Regions from separate parts of the Homo sapiens genome. Here all the other regions are linked to region 3. The links are contacts of gene promoters, found by promoter capture Hi-C in blood cells and fetal thymus (Javierre and others, 2016). All regions are on one chromosome and are shown on one strand. Each heading gives the region's core, a stretch centred on a gene start or on the middle of the fragment in contact. The rest is flanking DNA. Distances are from core to core; before and after follow the strand shown. Region 1 overlaps PIP5K1B (phosphatidylinositol-4-phosphate 5-kinase type 1 beta). Region 2 overlaps PIP5K1B (phosphatidylinositol-4-phosphate 5-kinase type 1 beta). Region 3 holds the start of PRKACG (protein kinase cAMP-activated catalytic subunit gamma).

What was found. Contacts are between HindIII fragments. The CHiCAGO score rates a contact against its expected background, and 5 or more counts as called.
Region 1: a fragment that was not itself captured here is called in contact with the fragment with the promoter of PRKACG in region 3 in 1 of 17 cell types (erythroblasts); the score reaches 5.7 in erythroblasts.
Region 2: a fragment that was not itself captured here is called in contact with the fragment with the promoter of PRKACG in region 3 in 2 of 17 cell types (megakaryocytes and erythroblasts); the score reaches 7.0 in megakaryocytes.

The regions. Positions count from the first base shown.
Region 1 is chr9:68,868,917-68,872,354 of GRCh38, reverse strand. All of the region lies in intron 5 of PIP5K1B (phosphatidylinositol-4-phosphate 5-kinase type 1 beta), which reads right to left. Among named protein-coding and RNA genes, the nearest start is that of PABIR1, 91 kb to the right of the region's middle. RefSeq lists an enhancer at 1-213. The HindIII fragment of the contact is 443 bases long and covers 1,216-1,658 here.
Region 2 is chr9:68,808,726-68,812,155 of GRCh38, reverse strand. The region is part of intron 2 of PIP5K1B (phosphatidylinositol-4-phosphate 5-kinase type 1 beta); the gene reads right to left. Among named protein-coding and RNA genes, the nearest start is that of PABIR1, 30 kb to the right of the region's middle. The HindIII fragment of the contact is 2,208 bases long and covers 174-2,381 here.
Region 3 is chr9:69,012,800-69,016,250 of GRCh38, reverse strand. It overlaps PRKACG (protein kinase cAMP-activated catalytic subunit gamma), which reads left to right and starts at 2,138. Exons shown (of 1, transcript NM_002732.4): 1 at 2,138-3,451. The coding sequence starts at 2,159. The coding sequence ends at 3,214. The HindIII fragment of the contact is 8,295 bases long and covers 1-3,451 here.

The DNA of each region.
Region 1 (3,438 bases), core at 188-2,687, 140 kb after region 3:
AATGAGATCGCTGGCCCCTGCTGGGCCCGGATATTTGTCAGGGGAGCACGAGTGCAGAGAACAAAACAGCAAGTCCAGTGAAGGTCAGCCAGCAGGCAACAACCTTGGTTCTCTGAGGCCCCACGCTGGCACATTTACTGTGTGTAGATGTGGGTGCCAGCCCACAGGCGTTCAGCACAGAATCTCCACAGCACAGGTACCAAGTGCTTAGCAACTTCCACCATGGCAGAACTGCCAACATTCAAACACAATGACCGCAATCAACGTTTGCCTCCTGAAGTCCACAGGCTTTCCTTGCTTGAGACTGGAGTTACCTGTTGAGTAACTGTGCTCAGCATCCAGACTTAGCAAAAATGAAGTCAGAAAAAGAGTAGAACTCCTCACAGTTTAAGATTTACCTTATATTTCTTCAATGCACTTATGTAGGGTGTGGAAAAAAAAAAAAAACACCCGACAACTGACTTTCTTGTCTTGGCGTAAGTTGAAGCTTTGGAAATCTCAGCTATGGGGTTTTGAGCAGTGGTTCTAGATGCTTGGATCCCATGGGCCAGTAAAATTTCGACAACAAAAGTTTGGAATCCAACCTTGGATTTCCAAATTTATTTTGCCAAGTAAGAACCTAAACAATTAAGCAAGCACACGTTACAATCCCTATCACATCAGGGCATTTTTAGCTCCAAAAAAGGAGAAAGAAATTTCAAATAAAGAACAGAAGTTTCTCTGTCCTCTTCCCCACTTATTCACTAAGAAGCAGTTAAAGTTCAATCACAGACCAGCTCTGGCATTCTGATATTCACCTCTTCTGAGGCAAGTTCATTTTTAAGGCCAAAGCTACTGCTTGTCTTAGTCTAAAAATACATATATCTTAATGGCAACGTATGTTCAGAATTACACAATGTTGAAGCTTGAGGAAGCATTAGCCGCCATCTGGAATTCCCCATTTAGCAGATAAATCATAGTCCAGGGAGGGAAAACAATGGCCCAAACTGATCAGGAACAAACAAGATTGGGAGATTAGACTCACATCAGAACAGCAGAAAAGTCATAAGCAGATAGGAATGGCTTAACTTAGACTTGACGTTCCTCTGTTATTCCTCCTTTTCAGGATTCTGTTACAAGTTTCAGGGGTTTCTCCCTGCCCAAATATCCCAATTACTTCCACATGAGGCCTTCACACCACAGGGGCTGGTGGGTAGAATTTCACTTACAGAAGCTTTGGTCAGTTGGTGTTCTCCTCTCTATGTACTAATAACAACACAGCTTTGTTTATGGGGTTTTAGAGCCTGATGACCAAGTGCTAGTTTTGGTGGCACTGGACTGAGAGATGTGGTGGTAAGCAATGGGGTAAAACTAATTTAGCATCTCAAAGACAACACAAGGGGACCAGTTTTGGAGCTGAGACTCAGAGCTTTCTTGCCTCTAGAGCAGCATTTTCCATTTAGTGAGCTTTGTTTATTTCAAATTGTAACCAAACCATCAATAGTGGCTCTGAGGACTTTTGACAAAACTAGTACTTACGCAACTCCTGGGTGATAGTGGTCAGTGTCGCTAAAGGATGCTAAATGCCCTCACTTGTATTCAACAAACATGACCTTACCCTCTGTATGACAGGATAAATGAAGGGTGCTTTGTCTTGATGTGCAGACATTAGGAAAGCTTAAGTGGCACTACAGTTGGGTGAATGCCACTACAATCCAGTAACAAACTACTGATGGTACCCAGTCTTCAAGTTGGACCTTCGTACACAGCAGTCTGTAAAAGCGGCCTTAAGGTATTATTAATTGCCTCTGCCAATTCAGCCAAGGTGGATATCCCTTGGTTTCCACATACAATTCTTTACGTAACTAGAGAGAGAGAGACAGAAATTGGTCCTCTTTTTTGCCAAATTAGAGAGTGCTCATGAATGGAAAAACAAAACAAAGCAAAACAAAAGACACATTCCTTGCTGGTGCCAACCTCCTGTTGCTGAGCAGTTCTGTGATGGGTACACATGAACTGCATTGTATAAGACGAGGCTGCACCATCTTCAGAGACCAACCAGCTGACAGCCAATCTGTAAAAGTCAGCATCTGAAGACAGCTTAAATTCCCCAACCAAACAGTGCATTCCGGGATGTCATTTACTGGGAACATGTGACATCATCGGTTATATAAACATTAAACCATCCAAGAAGTTATTACCATACTGGAAAACCGTGCTTGAAGATAACTTCAAATAAAGTAGAATATTGTATAATATCCAGTGCATGCAATAAATCCTTTGAGCTAAAGGAAGAGGTATATGGCTTTTAGTAATAGGAAATCAGTTTCTCCCCATCCTCACCAAATACACGCTGAACAAAGACATAAAGAGTTTTGATTTGAAGGAGCATCATATTATGGCTTGCCCAGCAGCAGTCACTTCTCATTTTCTCCCAAGAAGACTAAGCTGGCAGCTTTGTCTTCTACCCACATGTACATAAAAACTGGTGCAGAATGTTTGTATAGATCAGGAGTTGGTAATCTTTTTCTTTTTTATTTATTTTTATTTTTATTAAATATAAAGAGATGAGGTCTCACTATATTGCCCAGGCTGCTTTCAAACTCTTGAGCTCATGTGATCTTCCCACCTCGGCCTCCCAAAGTGCTGGGATTACGGGCGTGAGCCACTGCAGCCAGCCTTGGCAATCTTTTTCTATAAAGGGCCAGATAATATTTCGAGCTCTGTGGGCCATACAGTCTCTGTAGCAATTACTCAACTCTGCAGCCATTGTAGATAGCAGCCGCAGACAATTTGTAAATGAATGGATGTGGCTTTATTCCAATTAAACCTTATTTACAAAAACGGGCAGTTAGCGGGGCCTGTCCCATGGGCTGTTGTATGCTGACCCACATGATATAAGACAGTGGTCCCCAACCTTTTTGGCACCAGGGACCAGTTTTGTGGAAGACAATTTTTCCACAGACAGTGGAAATGGGGGGATGGTTTTGGGATGAAACTGTTCCATCTCAGATCATCGGGCATTACATTCTCATAAGGAGCAAACAACCTAGATCCCTTGTATGCACAGTTCACTACAGGGTTTGTGCTCCTATGAGAATCTAATGCTGCCAGTGATCTGACAGGAGGCGGAGCTCGCCCTTGTAATACTTGCTTGCCCTCTGCTCACCTCCTGCTGTGCTGCTGGTTTCCTAACAAGCCATGGACTGGTACTTGTCCACAGCCCAGGGATTGGGAATCCCTGGTATAAGATGGACTCTTGGATAAGTTTATGTCATTATGCCTAGAAATGCAGGCAGTTGGCTAGTTTGTCAAACCTGTAACATTGAGTGATGATATGAGGCAATATTTTATATGAATCTTTGACATATATGTTTGCTTATCATTTAGGATAATGTTTTACCCTTGCCGTAGTTTCTTGGAATTCTTTTCCAAAAGGTGGGTATTCCCTGGCTGTCC
Region 2 (3,430 bases), core at 28-2,527, 200 kb after region 3:
ATTTTAATTTTGCTGAGCTGGGCTCTCTTGCTGTGAGGCTGGTTTGTAAAAGTGACGCCCTTAGTTGGTGAATGAACCTAGCAACCATCCATTCCCACCCCACGCACCTCCATCTCAGCCTGGCTTTGCCATTCTCTAAATCAGTGCTGGGCATTACAACCACCAGGGAAGCTTTTTGAAAATTCAGCTTCTGGGGCCACACACTGAAACCAGGGAATCACTACCTCTGCGTGGTAGACCTAGGGAGTCAGTATTTTCAGCACGCTTCACAGGCTTGGGATCATCTAAGCTACTGTGACCAGAAAAGGCAATAAAGAGAGTTTATCACTTCAGGATTGCTTTCAGGGTCTATTAGGGAAAACAGAAACCACTTTGGGTATATTAAAGAGGGGATATTTAATACATGGAATTGGTTATAAAAGTGATGGGTGAACTGAAAAGCTAAGCAAGAGATGGTGATGAAACAGATCACAATCAACATGATGCCACTATTGCTTTTAGGGCTGCAGGCACAAGAGAAGGTGGTGTTAACAGACCTCAAAAGCAGAGGTCAGCTGGGGTCAGAACATCAGGACGGGGGTTGACTGGCAGAAGTTGGAACTGCAGTAGGAGGGGTATGTTTAGAAGCATGGAGAAGACAGTCACTATTGGAGATGCCACCTAAGACACACAGGTTGGGGGAGAACATCCTGGTTTTTCTCATCTACCTTCTACCCGCCAATCCCTGTCTATGGCTCCCAGAGACCAACCTCATGAAAAGCATCTGAGCCCATAGGAAGCCTGAGAAATGCATCCTATATGGGATGACTTCCCTGTGATACAGAACACAGGAAGAGTAAGGAATGGCTCTAAGGACAAACGACCCAATGATGGGCCATAAAACAAAACAGAAAGTATAATGAAAGTGGGAAAGCAGTAGGGGAATAAGCCTGAGAAACATGATTCTCAATGGAAATGTGGATTGGGAGGTAGGCTAGGAACTGGTACACACGTTTCTATTGTTATAGCTCTGGGAATCCGTTAAGAGCTTAAATAGATCACTACCAAGTAGTCAGGGTCTACTGCAGCCCCTGCATTAAGTCTAGGAGGAAGGAGAGGAGCGAGGTTGTGACTTGGGATGATTTTCCTGGAGTCCAGTCAAGTGGTAGGGCTGAGATTTGATCCAGGGTTGTCTGACTTCAAAACTAATGCTCTTTCCACCATACACCTCTCTCTTTTACTTGTTTTCTCCTACTTAAAAACAATGAGAAGATTGTCTAATCAATATTGCACCGCATTTTTCAATTTGTAAGTGCAATCAAAAGGTTAGCCAATTATATTAATTTACATAATTTTTTCCTATAAAACTTGTTCTACATCAGTAAGCCTCAACCCAGAGGGCATGTCTTAATTGAAAAGGTGGTAGAGGAGCTTTTTAAAACTCTATAGTTACCGAAAGTTTTAGATATATTGTGCCTGGGGGCCATATGTGAGTCAGAAGCAACCCTTTCAACCTCTAATTCCCCAACTAGGGCCATAAAACTCAGTATTTTTAATTTGCCACAGATGAGTTTGCTTCTCATACATGGCCAAATAAGTGGGAGAATTGCTAATTACCTAATCACTTAACTAAGTAGGCCAATCTGTAGACACAAGAGGTTAAGGGACACTAGCCACGAGTCCTTACTCATCTTCCCATAAAAACAAACACTTTATTAAACACTGATAAAGTGAAGCAACAAGAATGAATTGGAAGAACGCTGGGATAGGCCTCCGAAGGCCTGGGTTTCATGTCCATCTCTGCTGCTGTCCACTTCTCTTCGATTATGAATTGCGCTAACTCCATTAGATAGTGCTTTTGTTTTGGTGCCTCTGCCAAGTTTCTTAGGTAGGGCCTCACTTCAAATCCTCTTTGGAATGAGGAGAGGACTCATTGATTATTTGGTCATTATGAGTGCAACTTGCCCTATGGGAATTGGGCTTCCAATAGGATAGCCATATTCAAATATTTTCATGCCATTCAGGCTGTGTATGTTAACATTTCCTAGCGCATTTCCCGAAAGACAAAGCAATTGGAAGATAATTTGGGCCTTGGTCACACCTGCATGTTAAAGTCAATCATTTTTGTTTTATTTATGCTCTTTTGAATTCATTTTTATTACCTAACACCAAATAAATTCACTCTTTCATTCATTCAATGAACATTTATGGAGCATAACATGTCAGGCAGTAAGCTAGGCCCGGGGCCATAATGACAAGGACAGGTACTCGTCTTCAAAGGAATCCTATTAGCAGGAGAGACAGGCATTGCAGTGGCTACAATTTACAATGTGGCATGTCCTTTACTCTGGGTTTTTGGAGGAGGAACTGCATAAGTCAGCCTGTGGGGCTCATGGAAAGCTTCACTTATGAAGAACACTGAAATTGGACTTAGAGCCGTTTGCTGGGGACATAAGGTTGAGAGCTAGAGGGTGGAAAAGAGTCTGGGCACCGTGTTGGCTTGCTTACAAAAAGACCCAGCACCGTGAAGGGTATTTAAATTTTCATGGGTGTACTCAGAGATCATGAGTCCTGCATTTTAACAATTTGCCCGCAAGTAGCCCGAGGTTTAGGATGTTACCTAAAGGGTTACCAACAGACTTCCTCATTGCTCCTTCCACCTATGATCGTAAGTCCCTCTTAAATTTTGTGCCAGAATAAAAAACAAATGTGTGGAAATTTATATGGATTCATGAAAACCTAGGGAGCTATTCTTAGGAAAACGTCAGCCTGGTAAACAGTTTTGCTGGGAAGATAGGAAGTATTATAGTTCTTCTTCTAGAGCCCTTACAAAGAGGCGTGGTATTTTTTTTAATGTGGGTTTGGCAACAAAAACAACAGTAACAACAACAACAACAAAAAGCAGGAGAAAGCAAAGGTTTAAAATGTGCTGGGTTATTTTCTGAGGCTTAAACAACAAAAAAAACACCAAACTGAAACAATCCTTAACATAGTTTCCAAAGCAGAAATGCCTGTATTTTTCAGACCAGAAAAAATTCTTATATTAAGAAACTATAGGCTTAGAGTTTTTTAAAGAATATTTGCATAAACTCTCAAAGAAATGCAGAAAATCTGTATGTTAAATATTTGTACAATGGAGGCCACTTCTACATACATATGTTCAGACATATGGTATGTTACACATTTGTATGCTTAGAAGCTGTAAAAATAGAACTATGGTGTCTTACATTCAATGTAAAGCTCTCCTATTCTTACTGATGAAAATAATTTAAATGAGGTTTCACTTCATGTATCTAATATTTATATAACCAAGCCACTGCCAAAACCAATTCCAAACGATGGCACCTGCTCGCTATGAATCCAAATGGAGACCAATCAAAACAAATTGCAGGGCTCTTATATTCTCTCATAAAACACATTCATCAATTCTCAGAATGGCTCTCCCAAAGTG
Region 3 (3,451 bases), core at 889-3,388:
AATCACTGAGATTATGGGGGAGACGTGGAATTTCCATCTGCCAGGGATTTGCCTTGACCCAAAGCACAAGGGGCAATTGACCCCCCTGCTATGTTCTTGAGGGAATGTGGGTTTCCCTTTTGTGGAAGTTCAGATGATCAACAGTAGATTTTTCTCCTTTCCTCTTCTTCCTCTCTAACCTGACCGTCTCTGAATATACAGTCAGTACCCAAGTACTGGCCCCAGATTAAACCGTAAACTCGGAACCAGGCCTTGCACACAATAGACACCTGCTTGACCAACATCTGCTGAACTGAGCGGCAAGAATTCACAGTCACAATAGAAACCTTCTACTTGGAGTCAAGTAATCAGGGATTCCTCTCCAATTTGCTTGGTTTCAGCCTGCAGGGCTAGGTGAAAGTGTGTTGTTTACTTGCACTAGCTACAGGCGGTGTAGCCAGGGTGGGTAGGCAGAATTAGCTGTCAAACTTAAAGGGCAAGATGGAGAGAAAATAGGAGGATAAATGGGTATTCCTGTAGCTCAGTGTTTATGATGTAGGACAGAATCTTTGTACAGAATTGACTGGGGAGAGCAGCTCAGAACCCACCCTGTGATGGCTGAGTGCTGGCAGTCTTCTGGAGGGTGTGTGGGGCGGCTGACATGGTGGCCTGGGGGAGTGATGGAAGGCCCATCATCTATGTACTTTGACTTCTCATAAACTCCTGTGGCATGTTTTTAATAATTGATAGAATAAGTAAACAGAAAGTCAATAAGAATATAGAAGACCTGAACACTACTACTAGCCAACTTGACCTAAGTGACATTTGTAGAACACTGTATCCTCAAACAGCAGAATACACCAGAATATACATTCTTCTCAAGTGCATATGGGCCATCTACCAAGATAGATCATATTCTGGGCCATAAAATGAGCCCCAAGAAGTGTAAAACATTTTAGGTCACACAGAGTATGTTTTCTAACAATGGAATTAAATCAGAAATCAATAGGAAAATTCTTGAAAAATCCCCAAGTATTTGGAAACGAAATAATATACTTTTAAATAGCTTATCTGTCAAAGAAGATGAAAAGGGAGCTTAGAAAATATTTTGAGCTGGATGAAAAGGAAAATACAACATACCAAAATTTGTGGGATGCTGCAAAAAATAATACTTAGGAGGAAATTTATAGCACTAAGTGATTGTAATAGAAGAAAGATTTCAAATCAGTGACCTTAGTTCCCACCTTAGGAAATAAGAGCAATTAAACCCAAAGCAAACAGAAGAAAGGAAATCATATGTATGTGTTAAAATAAAACATTACATGCAGTAAAACTGAATTTTGGGGGGAAGTATACAGTTCTTTGAGGTGTTTGTTTGTTTGTTTGTTTGTTTTTGAGATGGAGTTTCACTCTTATTGCCCAGGCTGGTGTGCAGTGGCACGATCTCTGCTCACTGCAACCTCTGCCTCCCAGGTTCAAGCAATTCTCCTGCCTCAGCCTCCCGAGTAGCTGGGATTACAGGCATGCGCCACCACGCCTGGCTAATTTTTTTGTATTTTTAGTAGAGACGGGGTTTCACTATGGTGGTCAGGCTGGTTTCGAACTCCTGACCTTGTGATCCGCCCGCCTCGGCCTCCCAAAGTGTTGGGATTACAGGCTTTAGCCACTGCGCCCGGCCAGTTCTATGAGTTTTAAAACAAATGTAGACCACCACCCAATACATTGTAACCACCAGCACAATCAGGATACAAACATGTCCCACCACTTCCCACATTCCCTCAGGCTGTCCCTTCATAGTCCAACCGTCCCCTAACCCCAAGCCCTGGCAATCACTGATCTGTTCTCTCACACTATAGTTTTGCCTTTTCTGGAATGTCATAGAAATGGATTCATACAGTAAGTCTCCTTTAGAGTTGGCTTCTCTCACTTGCATAATGCCTTTTGGATTTATCCATATTGTTGAGTGCAGCGGCGTGATCTTGGCTCACTGAAGCCTTGACCTCCCAGGCTCAAGAAATCCTCCCATCTCAGCCTCCCATGTAGCTGGGAATATAAGCGGAGGCCGGGCGGGGGTCGCAGCGCCGCAGCCAGCGCAGCCAGCCCCAGGGGGCGCCATCTCCGCCGCTGCCGCCGCCGCCGCCGCCGCCGCGAGACCCCCGCCCCTGCCGCCGCCACCGCCATGGGCAACGCCCCCGCCAAGAAGGACACCGAGCAGGAGGAGAGCGTGAACGAGTTCCTAGCCAAAGCCAGAGGAGATTTCCTCTACAGATGGGGAAACCCCGCTCAAAACACCGCCAGCTCGGATCAGTTCGAACGGCTCAGGACGCTGGGCATGGGCTCCTTCGGGCGGGTGATGCTGGTGAGGCACCAGGAGACCGGCGGCCACTACGCCATGAAGATCCTCAACAAGCAGAAGGTGGTGAAGATGAAGCAGGTCGAGCACATACTGAACGAGAAGCGCATCCTGCAGGCGATCGACTTTCCGTTCCTCGTCAAGCTCCAGTTCTCCTTTAAGGACAACTCCTACCTGTACCTGGTGATGGAGTACGTGCCGGGTGGGGAGATGTTCTCCCGCCTACAGCGCGTCGGAAGGTTTAGCGAGCCCCATGCCTGTTTCTATGCCGCCCAGGTCGTCCTGGCCGTCCAGTACCTACACTCGCTCGACCTCATCCACCGCGACCTGAAGCCCGAGAATCTCCTCATCGACCAGCAGGGCTACCTGCAGGTGACGGACTTCGGTTTCGCCAAGCGCGTGAAGGGCCGCACTTGGACCTTGTGCGGGACCCCAGAGTACCTGGCCCCCGAGATCATCCTGAGCAAAGGCTACAACAAGGCCGTGGACTGGTGGGCCCTAGGGGTGCTCATCTATGAGATGGCCGTGGGCTTCCCACCCTTCTACGCCGACCAGCCCATCCAGATCTACGAGAAGATCGTCTCTGGGAGGGTGCGGTTTCCCTCCAAACTCAGCTCTGACCTCAAGCATCTGCTGCGGAGCCTGCTGCAGGTGGACCTCACCAAGCGCTTCGGAAACCTCAGGAACGGGGTTGGCGACATCAAGAACCACAAGTGGTTCGCCACAACCAGCTGGATCGCCATCTATGAGAAGAAGGTGGAAGCTCCCTTCATCCCGAAGTACACAGGCCCTGGGGATGCCAGTAACTTTGACGACTACGAGGAGGAAGAGCTCCGGATCTCCATCAATGAGAAGTGTGCCAAGGAGTTTTCTGAGTTTTAGGGGTGTGCTTGTGCCCCTGTGGGTTTTCTTTCCTTTTTGTTTTTGGTGGTTTGGGGGATGGGAGGGTTGGATTGAACAGCCAGAGGGCCCCAGAGTTCCTTGTATCTAATTTCATCCTCACCCCACCCTCCAGGGTTGGGGGAGCAGGAAGCCCAGATATTTGGAGGAACAGAAACACCAGCTGCTCCCTCACCCCCCCCCATGCCTTCCTGGTCCCTCTGTGCTTCTCTCTTTCTC